Linked DNA regions of Homo sapiens: regions 2 and 3 are each linked to region 1. The links are contacts of gene promoters, found by promoter capture Hi-C in blood cells and fetal thymus (Javierre and others, 2016). All regions are on one chromosome and are shown on one strand. Each heading gives the region's core, a stretch centred on a gene start or on the middle of the fragment in contact. The rest is flanking DNA. Distances are from core to core; before and after follow the strand shown.

Region 1 (4,902 bases), core at 1,393-3,892:
CAATCTTGCTGTAATCAACTGTACAGTTGCCTGTTGTTTTCCCAAGGTAGCTGGCTGACCTACTGCCCCCAGAGATGCCTCTTCCCACCCACTGTGTGTCAAGTCTTTCTCTGCTCCTCGGGTCTGCTCCTGAATAGGGGCTGGCCGCCTCCTGCTGACTTCTTTTTCTCTGGGCCTCTGGGTTTTCTCTTCACATCCCCAGACCTACCTTCTTCCCACTGCCATTCCTTCCCACGCCCTTCCCTTGGAACAGGCAAGCTTATCTTTCCATCTTGCAAGGCTGAGTTTCTCTCCAGAGTTTCTCTCCACTGTCTGCTTCTGTCCCTCTGCCTGTGTTTCTGGCTTCCCCCATATGGGCCTCCCACTCCGTCTGATGCTGGTCTCTTCACTGCAGGTGCACCTATCTAAGAGTAGCTATTGGCACATGCAGTTTTCTATTTCTTGTATCTCTCCCAGCCATTCTTGAGATTTTCTCTCGAGATTTCACTGTATGTAGGACGGTACCTTTCTCCCTGTGCATGCACTCCTCCCTGACGCCCCCTCACCCCACCACACAAAGTCTGTGAGTCCTTTTCACCATATGCTTCTCTGGTTAGTAACACAAGTGTCCTAGCACGTACATTCATGTGTCCACCCAATTCTGTGAGTACCTTCCTAACAATACACTCACCTCTGAGCCTCCACTGCTGTTTACAAATACCCTATCATGTGAGTTCATTTTCTATCCAAAGCGTGCACAACTAATGCCTTCCTCTGTGTGCACACTTATGGGGTGGGGGGGCTCTCTGAATACACTCCCAGTAAACCAGGGTTCACACCTCTCCTGCCGCTCTGCCTCAGACTCTGCCTTCGCTCTATGTATTTAAAGTGCCTGGCACTAGTGGGAGCTCAACAGATGTCAATTCTTTTCCCCACTTTTAGCTGAATAACTATGTGAATCTGTGTCTCGGTGTCCTTCTGCCCCTCTGTCTGTTGTACGAGACCGGTTGGAGTGTGTTCCTCAGTACCGAACGGGCTATTTGTAAGATGCCCCGTGGGTTCTATCTCCCTTCCGACTCTCTCCTCTCCTGTAAAACGTTACAGGTTCCCCCATATGGCATATCCCTCCCTCACGCGATGTATCCACTCCGGTCTCCCACAGTACTGCATGTCCATAAACTGTTTCCCCATGCACCCTGGTTACCGCGTCCCTTCTCGGTGCTTCCCTGTCTCTCCCATTTTTTTTCCAACATGAAAGCGTCTGGATTTGTAGTCCAATTACAGTGTATGTGCGCCTATCTGAGCCTCTCTCTGTACTGGAGGGGTGTGTGTGTATATGTGTGTGTGTGTGTCCATGGGCTTCTCTCGAAAACGAGGGGTGAGAGGCCCGAGTCTCTGCCCGGGATGCATTGTATCCTCCCCACACCTTCTGGCTCTGGCTCGTTCCCCGTTTACACTTCCCAGAGTCAGCCCAAGACGCCGGGAGCTTTTTCGGGTACGTTGAGCGTCCGTGAACCTCTCTCTCCAGAACCCGATGTCTTGCTCCCGGGGAGCGCTAAGTGTGCGTGAGTCCTCAGGTCTCTCCCCAGGGCACTGTGTTGGTTTGTGTCCGTCCTGGACGCGGCGCGTCTCCAGTAACGCGATGCGCCGGTGTCCCGGAGTCCCTGGGAATGCAGGTGTGTCCCCTCCCCCCCCGTACGCGAAGCGCCAGTGTCCCCGCCGTTCCAGTGTGCGCCGCCCCCTTACACGGACTGCCTAAGTCCCTATCTCTATGAGTACACCGTGTGCCCCTCACCATGCGCCCGAGTCCCCATCCCTTCGAGCACACAGTGTGTCCCCTGATACGTGGAGCGCCTGTGTCCCCAAGTCCCTGGGAATACAAGGTCCCACCCCCACACGCGGAGCGCCTGTGTCCTGTCTCTGAGGATCCACCGTGCCTATGTAACTGGAAAACGCGGGCAGCTGGTGCCCGCGAGTCGTCCCTGGTTCCTTGCCCATACGCTGCTCGCTACCCTCCTTCCCCGCCGAGGGTAGCGTGGTCATCTCACTTCTCTTATCGGGGCCTCTCTCCCTCCTTGGGACCCAACAAGCCAGGAAATCCTCGGGGGCCGTCGGAAAGTCCCGCAGCGGCAGCGCAGCCGACCCAGGGCTGCGGCTGCCTCGGCCCCGCCGCCAGGGGCCGCCCGACTGCCCGCTTCCCCAACGCCCAGGCTAGCCCGGGACCGCGGCGTCAGCCACCCTGCCCGGCCCTGCCCTGCCTGGCCGCTGCGGGCGCTGACGGTAGCAGCTGCCAGCCACGGCTCCGCCGGCCCCGCACCCGGGCGCGGCCAGGCCGTGAGGGGTGCGCTCTGCCTCTCTGAGCCCAGCCTGCCGGCCGGCCCGCTCACCTTGTGGCTCTGGTAAGTCTCGAGCGCCCGGATCGCCGTCTCGGTGAGCTTCACATGCAGTACGGTGATGTTGTCCTGCCCCAGCCGTCCGCACGACAGCCCATAGCGCTGCTCCTCCCGCAGGCCCCCTGTCCCCCCCGCCGCCATCTTAAACTCCCCGGGGTGCCGCCGCCGCCGCCGCTCCGGCTCTAGCCTCCACTGCGGCCGCGGCTGCTTGGGCTTCTGCAGCCGCCGCCACTGCTAGGGCCATCCCGCTGCTGACGTACTGTCATATACTGCGCGGAGCCAGACCTCGGACTGCCACCGCCGCCACCCGCCCCACCCTCCGGCCCCGCGCCCCGCCCCGGGCTCGTCTCATTGGTCTTGTTCCCTTCAGAACCGCCCTCATCGGCCGCCCTCCACTCTCACGGGGGCGGGCCCAAAGTCACTAGAGTTTTGCTCCTGGGACGGGACGTCCGAGAGGTAAGAGGCTGACGTCTAGGTGACGCGCCAACTTAATCATGTCTGACGTCACGTCTGGTCGTCTTGGCTAGCCGGCCGAGATTGGCCAGGCTGGCTTGGGGACTCCCCTGCTAATTGGAAGTCCAGGTTGCCTGGTCTGGTTACCTGGAGTTGGAGCCCCGCCCCTGTGGGGGATAGTAGTGAAAAGTCAGAATTGGGGAATCTCGCCCTACGCGGGTGGTCCTTGGAGAGGAGGATCTCCACCTCCACTATGTAAGGGGATGGCCGTGACCAAATAAGGACTTTGTTCCCCGACGGCTGCGGAAGCTGTGGAACTTGGTGCGTGCGTGTGGGGGAGGACGCAGCAGGAGGACTCGCTAGAGAGCTGCTCCTCAAAACTCCTAGTACTGTAGTTGAGCAAACGGCATTGGGAGGAAACTGCTCACTCTAAACTTGAAGTTATCGGGTGCCACACGCAGAGCTTATAAAAACAAAAACAAAAACAAAAACCCTTGAAATTAGTGAGTCGACTCTTAGATGTAGGAGTTGTGTTAGATCTTGTGGAGCATCTTAAGGACAAAATCACGCGGGAGGTTAAATGCCTTTCGTATGGTGGGCATGGTATAATAGAGAATTGAGCTTCGAGGTCTTTCCTACGCCATGCCCTGTTGTGATTCTCTGGGATCACAACTGGTGGGGATGATATCTCCTTAAAAAGGACTCTAGAAGAAGAGTAAAACTGGCATTGATCTAAATTAAAAGAAACCTCGACAATTCTCATTCTCTAATTCAGTTTGAGTATTGTCCTTTTTATTTGATAGGGCTGTGTGAAAACCTAGCTAGGGTTTAAAGGTAAGAGGCTGTCGAGGTTAAGCGAAGGAGATGGGGGCGTGAGGGGCGTGCAAAGGCCTGGCATACTTTCCATTCCATCCACAGGATGCTTCCTGTGTAGGCGTGGCTAAAAGAGGGAGCCTAATCTGGAGTCCCTTTCAGATTGTGTGTGGATAGACTGACAGATGGGTTCCTGTCAGAGGATGGATTAATTGGTTGATCAGAAACACCAGATAAAACAAACCATTGAAAGCTTTCAAACTGTTGAAAGGCAGTTTAAAAAAGTTCTTTTAATAAAAAAACTGAGACGCTTGTTTTTACCCTCAGCTTATAAAACCATGTTCTGTTCTACTGGGATTCCCCGGGAAAGTTTATAGATATTTAATCAGTATTTTTCATTATTTTAAATGGATTAGGGCCATGATTCCATGTCCTCCCCTCCCAATAAATGCCTTCCCCACCGTACGGGTACACTCCTTTTTGATTCAGACCTTCAAACATAGTAGGTGTATAATGTGAATTACAGAATGAATTGGATTAAGTGGAAACACCTGTATTAAGTGTTACTCCATCACAGGAAAACAGTTTGTAAATTGACTTAATTTCAATCCACTAAGATTGGCTAGCTGTTAAGACGTGATTAACGCTTGCTAATTTCATTTACTTTAGTGATACAGTGTTATCTTAAATTCATGTAGTAGAGATATTAAGGTAATCATCAAATTGGATTAAAAAGTTTACTCTTAGAAGGGAAATAGAGGCTTTACTACCTAGTTTTCTCCGCTTTCCAAAAGTAGAAACCTTATTCAAATAGTTCATCTCTAAGCGGACTATAATCTAAAAATAATTCTGTACTTGAACTTTTCTTTTCTCTCTCTCTTTTTTTTTTTTTTTTTTTGATAGTAAAGGACTGAGCACATAGCTAAAGCCTTAATTATTTGGGAGGTGAGGGGGAAGGGAGGTTTGACCGGAACAAGTAAAACCTGTATCCCACTGCTTTTCCGGTGAATGTGGGTAAATCCCCACCCACATGATATCCTAACTTGGCCTACTCTTACTCAGAATTTCTGATGACATCCAAGCGGGTGGGGGAGGAGTAAGGATGGTTTTCGTTGTAGTTTTCAAATATCTGACCTGTAGCTTCTTACTAGTAATTGACTTTTTTTAAAAATTATAATAGGAAAATTTTTCTCATGCCCTATTTTAGTGGGTAACAAATCTTTCACGGATTAATATATTATTGTAGTGAGTTAATGGTTGTTTG
Region 2 (4,902 bases), core at 937-3,436, 3.0 Mb after region 1:
TGGCTCACACACCTGTAATCCCAACACTCTGGGAGGCCAAGGTGGGTGGATTACCTGAGGTCAAGAGTTCAAGATCAGCCTGACCAACACAGAGAAACCCTGTCTCTACTAAAAATACAAAAATTAGCCAGGCATGGTGGTGCACACCTGTAGTCCCAGTCACTCGGGAGGCTGTGGCAGGAGAATCGTTTGAACCCAGGAGGCGGAGGTTGCAGTGAGGTGAGATCGTGCCATTGCACTCCAGCCTGGGCAACAGAGCAAGACGCCGTCTCAAAAAAAAAAAAAAAAAGACAAATCTAGATTTCAAAAACATTCTACAGGATACCTGGCCAGTATTTCTCAAGATGGTTTAGACCATGAAAACTAAGGAAAGACTTAGAAACTCTCACAGATGAAAGGAGACTGGGGAGACGTGACAACTAAATGCAATGTGGCACTCTGGATTTAATCCTACAACAGAAAAGAGGGAGTTAATGGAAAAATCAATGAAATCCAAGTATAGAGTTTAGGTAATAGTTTTTTAAAAAAGAATAAAAAAATAAATAAAATGGCTATAAATCTTGTTTCCCCATCTGGAAAGTGGGAATCATAACAATGTATACATCACAGAAGTTTTGTGAGGATGAACTGTGACAATTCAAGTAATGCACAATGCCCTATGTGCATCATGCTAGGTTAAGGCACAGCAAGAGCTCAACAATCATCAGTTGCCATTGTTACTGCTTCCGGAGAAACGAAACTTACCTAGCCTCTTGCTAGTCCTGCTCAAGACACAATTAATTGGAGGTTCGCAGAGAATGAAAACCATGTATAACAACATCAATAACAAAGTGGCAAGATGCTATGACTCCAGATGAATAGCTTCATATAAATGTATATGAACTTAATACATAAGAATCACTTAGAATCTTGTTAAAATGAAGATTCTGATTCAGTACGTCTGGGGCGAGGCACAAGGTTCTACAGTTATAATAAGCTCCCAAATGATGCCAACACCGCTGGTCCACGGACCACAACTGGTGCAACTTTTCTATTTCTGTAGTTTTAAATATTTCCCATTTTAAAAAAAGGTTAAACATTTTCTCCATTCATCATAAAGTAATACTCATTTTAAAACACAAAACTGCACCATATATAACCAATCAGTCATCAAGATCTTAAACAAGCAGCTACTTAAGCAGAGTAAAAGGGGTAACATCACATTAATGTTTGCCCACACATTATGACTACATACAGAAAAGTAATCTTTGAAAGGTAACTCATACACCATTCTGATCTTTAACCATATAGCCATTCCTGAAGTAAATCATCACTCAAGATAACTTATTTAAAACTAAAAAAAGTCAGCCAGGCGCAGTGGCTCATGCCTGTAATCCCAGCACTTTGGGAGGCCGAGGTGGGTGGATCACAAGGTCAGGAGTTCAAGACCACCAGCCTGGCCAACATGGTGAAATCCCATCTTTACTAAAAATACAAAAATTAGCGGGGCATGGTGGCGGGCACCTATAATCCCAGCTACTCAGGAGGCAGAGGCAGAAAACTGCCAGAACACAGGAGACGGAGGCTGCAGTGAGCCAAGATCGTGCTACTGCACTCCAGCCTGGGCAACAGTGAGACTCCATCTCAATTAAAAAAAAACAAACCACACACACACTAAAAAAAAGTCTACCAGGATTTGAAAAATTTGCTTGCAAATACCACCACAAATCCACACAGCTGCAAATTGATGCTTTGAAATCTTCCAGCATTATCTTTAAAAAGCTTAACTTCAGTTACATAAAACTTTGTGTTGAGCTGTAACTGTTATACAGGTGCATCCTGGCCCACATTTCTTAGTAACTAAATTTCAAGACTGTCAGCAATAGCATAGCAAAAGAGACATATTTTTCCTGTGTATTCTTCTTCCTTTCAGTGAATAGTTATAGAGAGATCTCCAGACAGAAAGAATAGTTAAAAATTTTTTTTTTCAGTAGAAAGCTAACTGTAACCTGCAAATGCCAAATGAATTCTTTCTTAATTCTATTCCGTTTAATAAACTTTCACAAAAGAAAAAGGAAATTTTGAAGCAAAAATACATTATAGAATTCTAGCCACTAAAAAACCAAAATTTACTTTAAAAAGCTACTTACAATGAATATCAACTTTAGAAACAAAGTATATTTCTAATCTAATTATATTAGGGGCCAGGCACGGTGGCTCATGCCTGTAATCCCCAGTGCTTTGGGAGGCCAAGGCGGGCAGATCACCTGAGGTCAGGAGTTCGAGACCAGCCTGGCCAACATGACGAAACACCGTCTCTGCTAAAAATACAAAAATTAGCTGGATGCAGTGGTGCATGCCTGTAGTCCCAGCTACTCGGGAGGCTGAGGCAGGAAAATTGCTTGAACTCGGTAGGCGGAGGATGCAGTGAGCCGAGGTCATACCGCTGCACTGCAGCCTGGGCGACAGAGCAAGACTCTGGCTCAAAAAAAAGAAAAAAAATTACTCTATATTAATATTCATAGTTATAGAAACTTTAGTTTTTTTTGCAAGAAAATCCCTCTACCTCTAAAGTTCACCTCCTCAGTCTTTTAACTAGGCACAATCTCCCTTCTTTGTAATGTCTTATGACAAAAGCTTCTGGGGAAGGGAGTGGGAATTGAGTGTTAATGACAGTAGAGCATAGTATAGCAGCGGTAAGAAAGAAAATGAAGGCAAAAAAGAAGGTCTCTCTCCTGATAAACTCCAAGGCAGTTGTAAAAACTAGATAACTTGATAACCACACTTTTCAGAAGCACACAAAACCTGTATAGCAGAATTAACAACTCCGAATAATTAAAGAAATATGCTTTGCAATTATTTAAGATGAGTATGCATTGTAAAAGATTCCTTAAATTTGATTTCGCAAGGTTTAATTTTTTTTTTTTTTTTGAGACGGAGTTTCACTTGTTTCCCAGGCTGGAGTGCAATCGCGCAATCTCCGGCTCACTGCAACCTCCGTCTGCCTCCTGGGTTCAAGCAATTCTCCTGCCTCAGCCTCGCGAGCAGCTGGGATTACAGGCCACCACACCCAGCTCATTTTGTATTTTTGGTAGAGACAGGATTTCTCCATGTTGGTCAAGGTGGTCTCGAACTCCCAACCTCAGGTGATCTGCCTGCTCGGCCTCCCAAAGTGCTGGGATTACAGGCGTAAGCCACCGCACCCGGCCACAAGGTTTAATTTTTTTTCACCTGTAGTATCAAATTGGACTTATTACTCCTCCTCGCTTTAGATATGGCAGAAAAATATATAAAATATTGGAACAGGTAAGTAGTCAGAATATACCAGCACATGATCTGTCTGCATATCCAACTAGAAGATTTACTCTCGAGTCTTATCTCCTATTTTATGAATAGTTTGGTTCCTTTGTTTCCTCTAGGTATTTCTACCTACTAACCATTCCATTCCAACTATGAATAAGAAAATGTGAGGCCGGGTGTGGCAGCTCACACCTGTAATCCCAACACTTTGGGAGGCCAAGGTGGGAGGACTGCTTGAGCCCATGAGTTCAAGACCAGCTGAGGCAATATGGTGAGACCTCATCTCTACAAAAAATTTTAAAATTAGCTGAGTGTGGTGGCATGCACGCCTTTCAGGATGCTGAGGTGGGAGAATCGTTTGAGCCCAGGAGGTGGAGGCAGAGGCTGCAGTGAGCTGAGACTACACAACTGTACTCCAGCCTGGGTGACAGAGTGAGGCCCTGTCTCAAAAGAAAAGAAAAGAAAAAAAAAATTGTGGGTGGACAATATGACTCTTCTATTTACTTAACTATAGTCAGTAGTCAACATACCTATAGAGATTTGAATCAAAGCTCAGATTCAAAAGTCTTTTAATTAAACCTCAACTCTGGTGATTCTAGTAAAACTTTACTGTTTGAAACTTTACGATGCACTTTGTAATTAATTAAAATGAAACTTCAATATCAGTTCAATCCTTAGAGTTGAGGCAATCATATGAGTTTTAATTAATGCAGAGATAGCATCAACTCAGGTTGTATAACTCCTAGACCAATACTTGTTCAAGTAATAATGCTGCTTTCCATAACTGTTCCTTATTTTATTCTCTATGATGTTCTTGCTTATCCAAACAGTATGTATGAAAGCTGATAAACTAAAGTATAACTAGCAAGGTCAGAAAATTCCAAGTGTCAGGCCTGGCGTGGTGGCTCATGCCTATAATCTCAGCACTTTGGGAGCTCGAGGCAGGTGGATCACTTGAGGCCAGGAGTTCGAGACCAGCCTGGCCAATGTGGCGAAACCCCATCTCTACAAAAAAAATACAAAAATTAGCTGGGAGTGGTGGCTAGCGCCTGTAATCCCAGCTACTCCGGAGGCTGAGGTAGGAGAAACACTTGAGCCTGGGAGGTGGAGGTTGCAGTGAGCCGGGATCACACCACTGCACTCCAGCCTGGGCGACAGAGCAAGACTCTGTCTCAAAAAAAAAAAAAGAAAAAGAAAAGTCCAAGTTTCAGATCAAATACAAATACCACTATTTAGTTTTCTATCTAACATTTTTTCTTAATCTTCCTAATTGCCAAAACTTTCCTGTTTCTTGTCCACCCCCATGTCTCCATCACTGTAATTAATGTTTTTTTTATATAGTATCCTGTGTTACACAAAACATGCTGGTTACAATAAGCAAATATTCAGTGCTCATTATCTCAGAAAATATTTTAAGCCCTTTACATGAAGCATCTCAATCCTCAAATTTTTTTTAAATTTTATTTTTTATAAATTACAGACAAAGTCTCACTATGCTGCCTAAACTGGTCTCCAACTTTTGAGTTCAAGTGATCCTCCTTCCTCAGCCTCTCAAAGTGCTGGGATTACAAACAGGATCCAACAAGCCCAGCCGTGAACTTTAAATAAGATAAACAATAGTTT
Region 3 (4,902 bases), core at 167-2,666, 2.8 Mb after region 1:
ACCCATGATCCTTGCAACTATCACAGCCACGCTGGAGCCAGGGAACACAGGAGAGGGGACCAGAACCCTCCCAGTTACCTTTTTTGTGGCTTGTTTGGAGATCCTCACCTCAGAACTTTCAAGGATAACTTCCAAACATGCAAAGTAGAAGGGGCCTGGCCACTCATAGATAATAATTATCTTTCAGTTCAAGTGACAAACGTACCTGTGGTCCCTGGATCCAGTGCTACTGCTACAAATAAGGCAAGTATACCTTCTTTTTTCCCTCTCCCTACTCAACTTTCAAAAGATGTTTGATTCTTCAGATAACTTTTGAAATGTGCTATAAAGGGCCTAGTTTAAAAGGAACTTCTTTTGAAAAGCAATTAACAGTTGATAAAGGGTTAAATAAAAATTATCTAGTAAGGAATTTCTTATTGGAATGTAAACGTGGTTCTAATTTTAAATAGACAGTGATATAAAGAATAAAAAGTAAACAGTGAAATTGAGTTCTCCAGGGAAAAGGCAGACCTGTTTAGTAAAAAAAGGATGCTTTTTTCAGTGATGTCTTTTTTTGAGTGCATATGTGTGTGACTCTTGAAGAAATCCATGTTCAGATTTATCAGATGATTGAAGTGGGTGTTCTGAATAAAGAAAGCTGTGAGGCCTGAGGCAGTGACGTATCAGGAAACATATTTTATTGGAGATTTGGAAGCTATAGTAAAACATAATGGCAATAAGCCAACTTCCCAGTGGTAAACCCACAGTGGTGGTTTAGTTACTAACCTCTTGATGACCGAGGAGGTTAATAATTGGATATTGCAGAGCAGCAATATGTAACCTGTGTGTAATCTCAGGGCCTCAGGTTAACAGTTTCAGTCAGAAGCTAAGAGAAACACTGACAAAATTTAGCTTACCATGACTAGCTGCCAGTTTATGTGGTCTGTGTTCGTTTGTTTTAAAGAAACTAATACTGTACAGAGATCTTTGACACCAACTTCAAGGCACCAGTGTTTAGTGCAAGCAGGTAGAGAGGACCTATGAACTAGGTTTCTAATTGGCAGTCAGTGCTAATTCAGCCATTAGTAAGTAAAGTCACTTTTCCACTAAAATAGTGTCCCGACTAACCACCTCCTTCCGTGTCTTTTCCAACCACAAAACCACACACATAGACCATCTCATCTTACTTTATTTCTTGCATTTATTGTATCCAAAAAAATTGGTTTAGTTTTTTAATGTAATTGACAAGACTCAAGCTTTTGAAATACTTACGACTGTTCTCTTGATTCCAGGACACCCTCCCCTGTGTCTAAACATGTGTGGTATACTTTTTAAATAAATTAAAGCTTATTTTACTTGGCATTTTGTGGAGGGAATTTTACAACACCTCGGGAGATATCTGCAGACACCCTGGGGTGTCACAAATTTAAGACTAGAAGTCATTGCCCTAATCAAAGACGACTGTTACACTGGTCTAGACATCTTAGGGGAACTCCAAAATGTTTATACTTCAACTCTCAGTAAAAGCTCAAGCTTGTCTTTTGCCTTACCAAATTCCATATCTCAAAATAAACTTTTCTCCCTCTGGTTTTTGTATGTACTCAAATCATTTTTTTATAAATATCTCAGAATATGTATTTGCTATAAATTATATATAAAGTTATAGAATTATGAAGTTATAAGAGAAACGATGGCCCCAAATCCATCATTACTGCAGAGTCATATGGCACATGAAAGCTGGGAATAGTCTTTGGGTAACTGAAAGAAGGCAGTCCATTGAGAATGGAAAAAGTCATCAATTGTGCAAATAATTGAGGACTTGGCAGAGTGACCTTCGAACAAAACTATAGAGATTAATCAGAGCTTGTAAATGGGGAAATACTCATTCTCTTCACAAGAAGCAGTATTCAAATTTTATTCTTCATGCCTTCCATCCGGTCATGTCACTTCTGTTATTCAGTCTTTCAGAATTCTATTGTTACTGATTATGGTGAAAATATGTGGGGGATAACCTTATGAATATTGCTATATATATGGAACAGTTTACACTGAAGTATTTAAGATCATTTTATTTCAGTTGAATTCTGTTGTAATTTTTAGCAAATAAATAAAAAGGACAATCTTGTTTTCTCCCTCAGTTTGGAATAAGGATCAAAGGTTTTACCCATTCAAAAAAAGTTGGAGAAAGTGGTCCTCTGACATAAATTCAAGTAGATGATGAGAATGCTTGGTCTTTAATTGCACTATTGGAAGGTATTTTCCCACATCTGGTGACCATGCTGTTCAGCAGCAAACTATTCTGTAGCCTCACTTCACAACCTCTAGGAGTTGTTGGGTTTGGTTCCCCATCCCCCTTCTCTTTGTAACTCTCTCCAAAGCCCCATAAGCATCTGGAAGGTTGCTCTTGAAGACCTGTCTCAATACTAGTATGACGTGTGCTGGTGAAACCAAAGAAAGGCCTAAATCTTACAATACGTTCCTTTTACCCAGCCAGGACCAAAATAAAACCTTTAAAAACCTTCAGCACAAAAAAGTGGTGGTGATAAAAATAAAAACAATAAGAGGCATAAAAGTGCTTATAAAATAAGTTCTAAACAAGATCTGAAATTTTCCCTTAATGTCTACCACCATACTTTCTTTAAAAAATCTTTTGAAAAATTTTTTCATGGAAATCCCAGCTTTACTGAGAATTTAAGCAAGTGCATAGACCAGTTGTTGGGTAACCTAGTACTGTGCCTTGTAGATACCAGATCATCCTTGTGTGGTCAAGTGTTTTTAATAACCCACGTGCTCAGTGCCACTAGATTGAAAGACTGATGTCATTGGCTAGCTGGCCAGCTGTGATACTGAAATTTTCGGAAACATCCATTCATTTCGCTCCCTTTAACACTGCACTGAAGCACTAGACCCCAGGGTATTTTGCTCAATGAGGCTACTAAGACAGCTTCTCAGTCCTGGGAACCTGGCCTCTTGAGCAAGCCGTCTTCAAGCCCAACTTTGTGAGCTCTGCCTGTTCCTAGGTACCCCCCTTTTCCTTATCACAAAAAGACAAAGTGGGGGAAAAATCTAAACACCATAGAATGAAATGAAGTCACCCGGGGCCATATATTAGCTAAGCCTTTTCTTTTTCTCTACATGGCAAGCAGTGAGTTCAAGGCAGACATGCCTGCGGTGCTTAATGATGTTGCCTCATCTCCCCTGGTCTACTGTTTTCTTCCCCACCATGGCCCTCTCCTCCCCTTCCTTGGGAAAGGTAGGGTTTGTTTTCCTGTTGGTCATGGTGTGCACAGGTATGCTTTCTCAAGGCCTCTGTGTTTTTAGTTTTGCCCTGTGCCTGCCTCCCTCTCTTTGGAGGAACCTGTGCCAGTTGGCTACCTTGCCAGGTAGATGTGTTTCTGAAGGGGAAGCCAGGGCTGGTTTTTCATCTCTCCACCCCGGGGGCTGCAGGGGTGTCTGGCACACACACATACCTCGGCTGACATCCACATCAGCTCTGGGCCATCTTCCCCACCTTTGGCTGTGAGAGGCGGCTACAGGCATGTAGGCACTCAGAATGAGATGAGAGGGACAGGCTCTGAACTGGCAGAGTTAGCTACACTGAGAAGAAAGGCAGGTTTTGTTTTGCAGGAGGAAGTAGCCCACCCTTCACAGGCTCCAGAGAGGGCACATGTCAGTAGTTGTCCTGTGCCTCACACACTCAAGATAAACCAGATGATCTGTTTTGAGGATGCTTGACTTCTTCCATGTTATTTTTGCCAACCTCTCAGTCTCAACTCTTGTTCATTCATTCTGTGGATCTTTATATCTCTGTTTAAGTGGGTTCAATAAGAATCTGTATATGCCATGATCACAGAAGGTGATTGGGGAATAAATTTTTTTATGAAAGATTCTGCACTTTGCAAATGTATTCCCAATAGCATATATTAAAATTGCCAGTCTCCAGGGAATTCAAAAGTATTCCTTTTTCAAAAACAATTCTGAAATTCATTTATTATTAAGTTGCATACCTAAACAAACAATGGAAATGTTTTTAGTAATTATTTTTGTACAAGTAGTTTGAATGCCTTCATTTTATTTTTCCTTTTGTTTTAATGTGGTTGTATCCTTTTTCACCACTCTTGCTTTCTTATTCTATCCTTCCACCTCAGTAACACAAAATAAAAAGTAGGAGTGGAGACTGGGGATGACAACAGGTCCTACTGCAGATCTTCTGCTACACATTTTACTGTGCCTCACCCTTGAGTGAGAGAAGGTAGTTTACCTTAAGGCGTTTGAATTTGGGAAAGGGCTGTGCTCATCGTACTTGACCAAGCAAGATGACTGTTAGGCAGATGGACAGATGCTCTGAGGTGCCTATCTTGTACGTTTTTGGTGCTGCCAACGGCCACCAGCTCCTGGCAATCCTATGGGCAGCACTCATCGCCTGTCCAAAGCATAGTAGCATACCCATCATGCATTATGGATAGTCTAAATTCCATACTTACCCCTGAATTTCAAATTCTGTAGCTACTTTCTTGGGAATTCTTGAAAATTTCCGCTGGTTGAAGATACTAGAGATGTAGAAAGACTTAGTTTGGTTTGCTTTTGGTTAATGTCTTCTTCAAACTCTGTAACCTACAGTTTTCCATTGTAAGAAACACCATTACCTTGTAGGCTCCTAGAGCATGAGGTAGGTCTGCTTTCTGGTGCCCCTTAGCAGGGAGTTATTGTTCTACAACAGCATGTGGGCATGTAAACCAGTGTTCTGGGTCATTCTTTGTTGGTTACAAAATCAGAACCAGACATGCCTGCATTGCAACAGCTTTCAGTTGTCATTTTAAGTATATCTCTGCATAAGGTTTGGAAATCTGTTCTCTGTTGACCCCAGACCTAGTACATTTATTGTAGCTAAGTTTTTGCAACCCATTATGTTTTTAGCATCTT

The links. The method cuts DNA at HindIII sites, captures the fragments that hold promoters and counts their contacts. A CHiCAGO score of 5 or more calls a contact.
Region 2: a fragment that was not itself captured here is called in contact with the fragment with the promoter of ELL2 in region 1 in 1 of 17 cell types (total B cells); the score reaches 5.6 in total B cells.
Region 3: a fragment that was not itself captured here is called in contact with the fragment with the promoter of ELL2 in region 1 in 3 of 17 cell types (naive B cells, naive CD8 T cells and total B cells); the score reaches 6.2 in naive B cells.

What each region holds. Positions count from the first base shown.
Region 1 is chr5:95,959,209-95,964,110 of GRCh38, forward strand. ELL2 (elongation factor for RNA polymerase II 2) reads right to left here and starts at 2,643. Exons shown (of 12, transcript NM_012081.6): 1 at 2,367-2,643. The coding sequence starts at 2,513. It overlaps LOC101929710 (a long non-coding RNA gene), which reads left to right and starts at 2,793. Exons shown (of 5, transcript NR_130776.1): 1 at 2,793-2,828. It also overlaps a transcript of CAST not described here. RefSeq lists silencers at 2,057-2,466, 2,537-2,776, 2,732-3,199 and an enhancer at 2,495-3,252. The HindIII fragment of the contact is 3,633 bases long and covers 257-3,889 here.
Region 2 is chr5:98,920,525-98,925,426 of GRCh38, forward strand. All of the region lies in intron 2 of CHD1 (chromodomain helicase DNA binding protein 1), which reads right to left. Among named protein-coding and RNA genes, the nearest start is that of CHD1-DT, 5.6 kb to the right of the region's middle. The HindIII fragment of the contact is 855 bases long and covers 1,760-2,614 here.
Region 3 is chr5:98,779,846-98,784,747 of GRCh38, forward strand. It overlaps RGMB (repulsive guidance molecule BMP co-receptor b), which reads left to right. Exons shown (of 3, transcript NM_001366508.1): 2 at 1-243. Among named protein-coding and RNA genes, the nearest start is that of RGMB, 8.6 kb to the left of the region's middle. RefSeq lists an enhancer at 1-468. The HindIII fragment of the contact is 187 bases long and covers 1,324-1,510 here.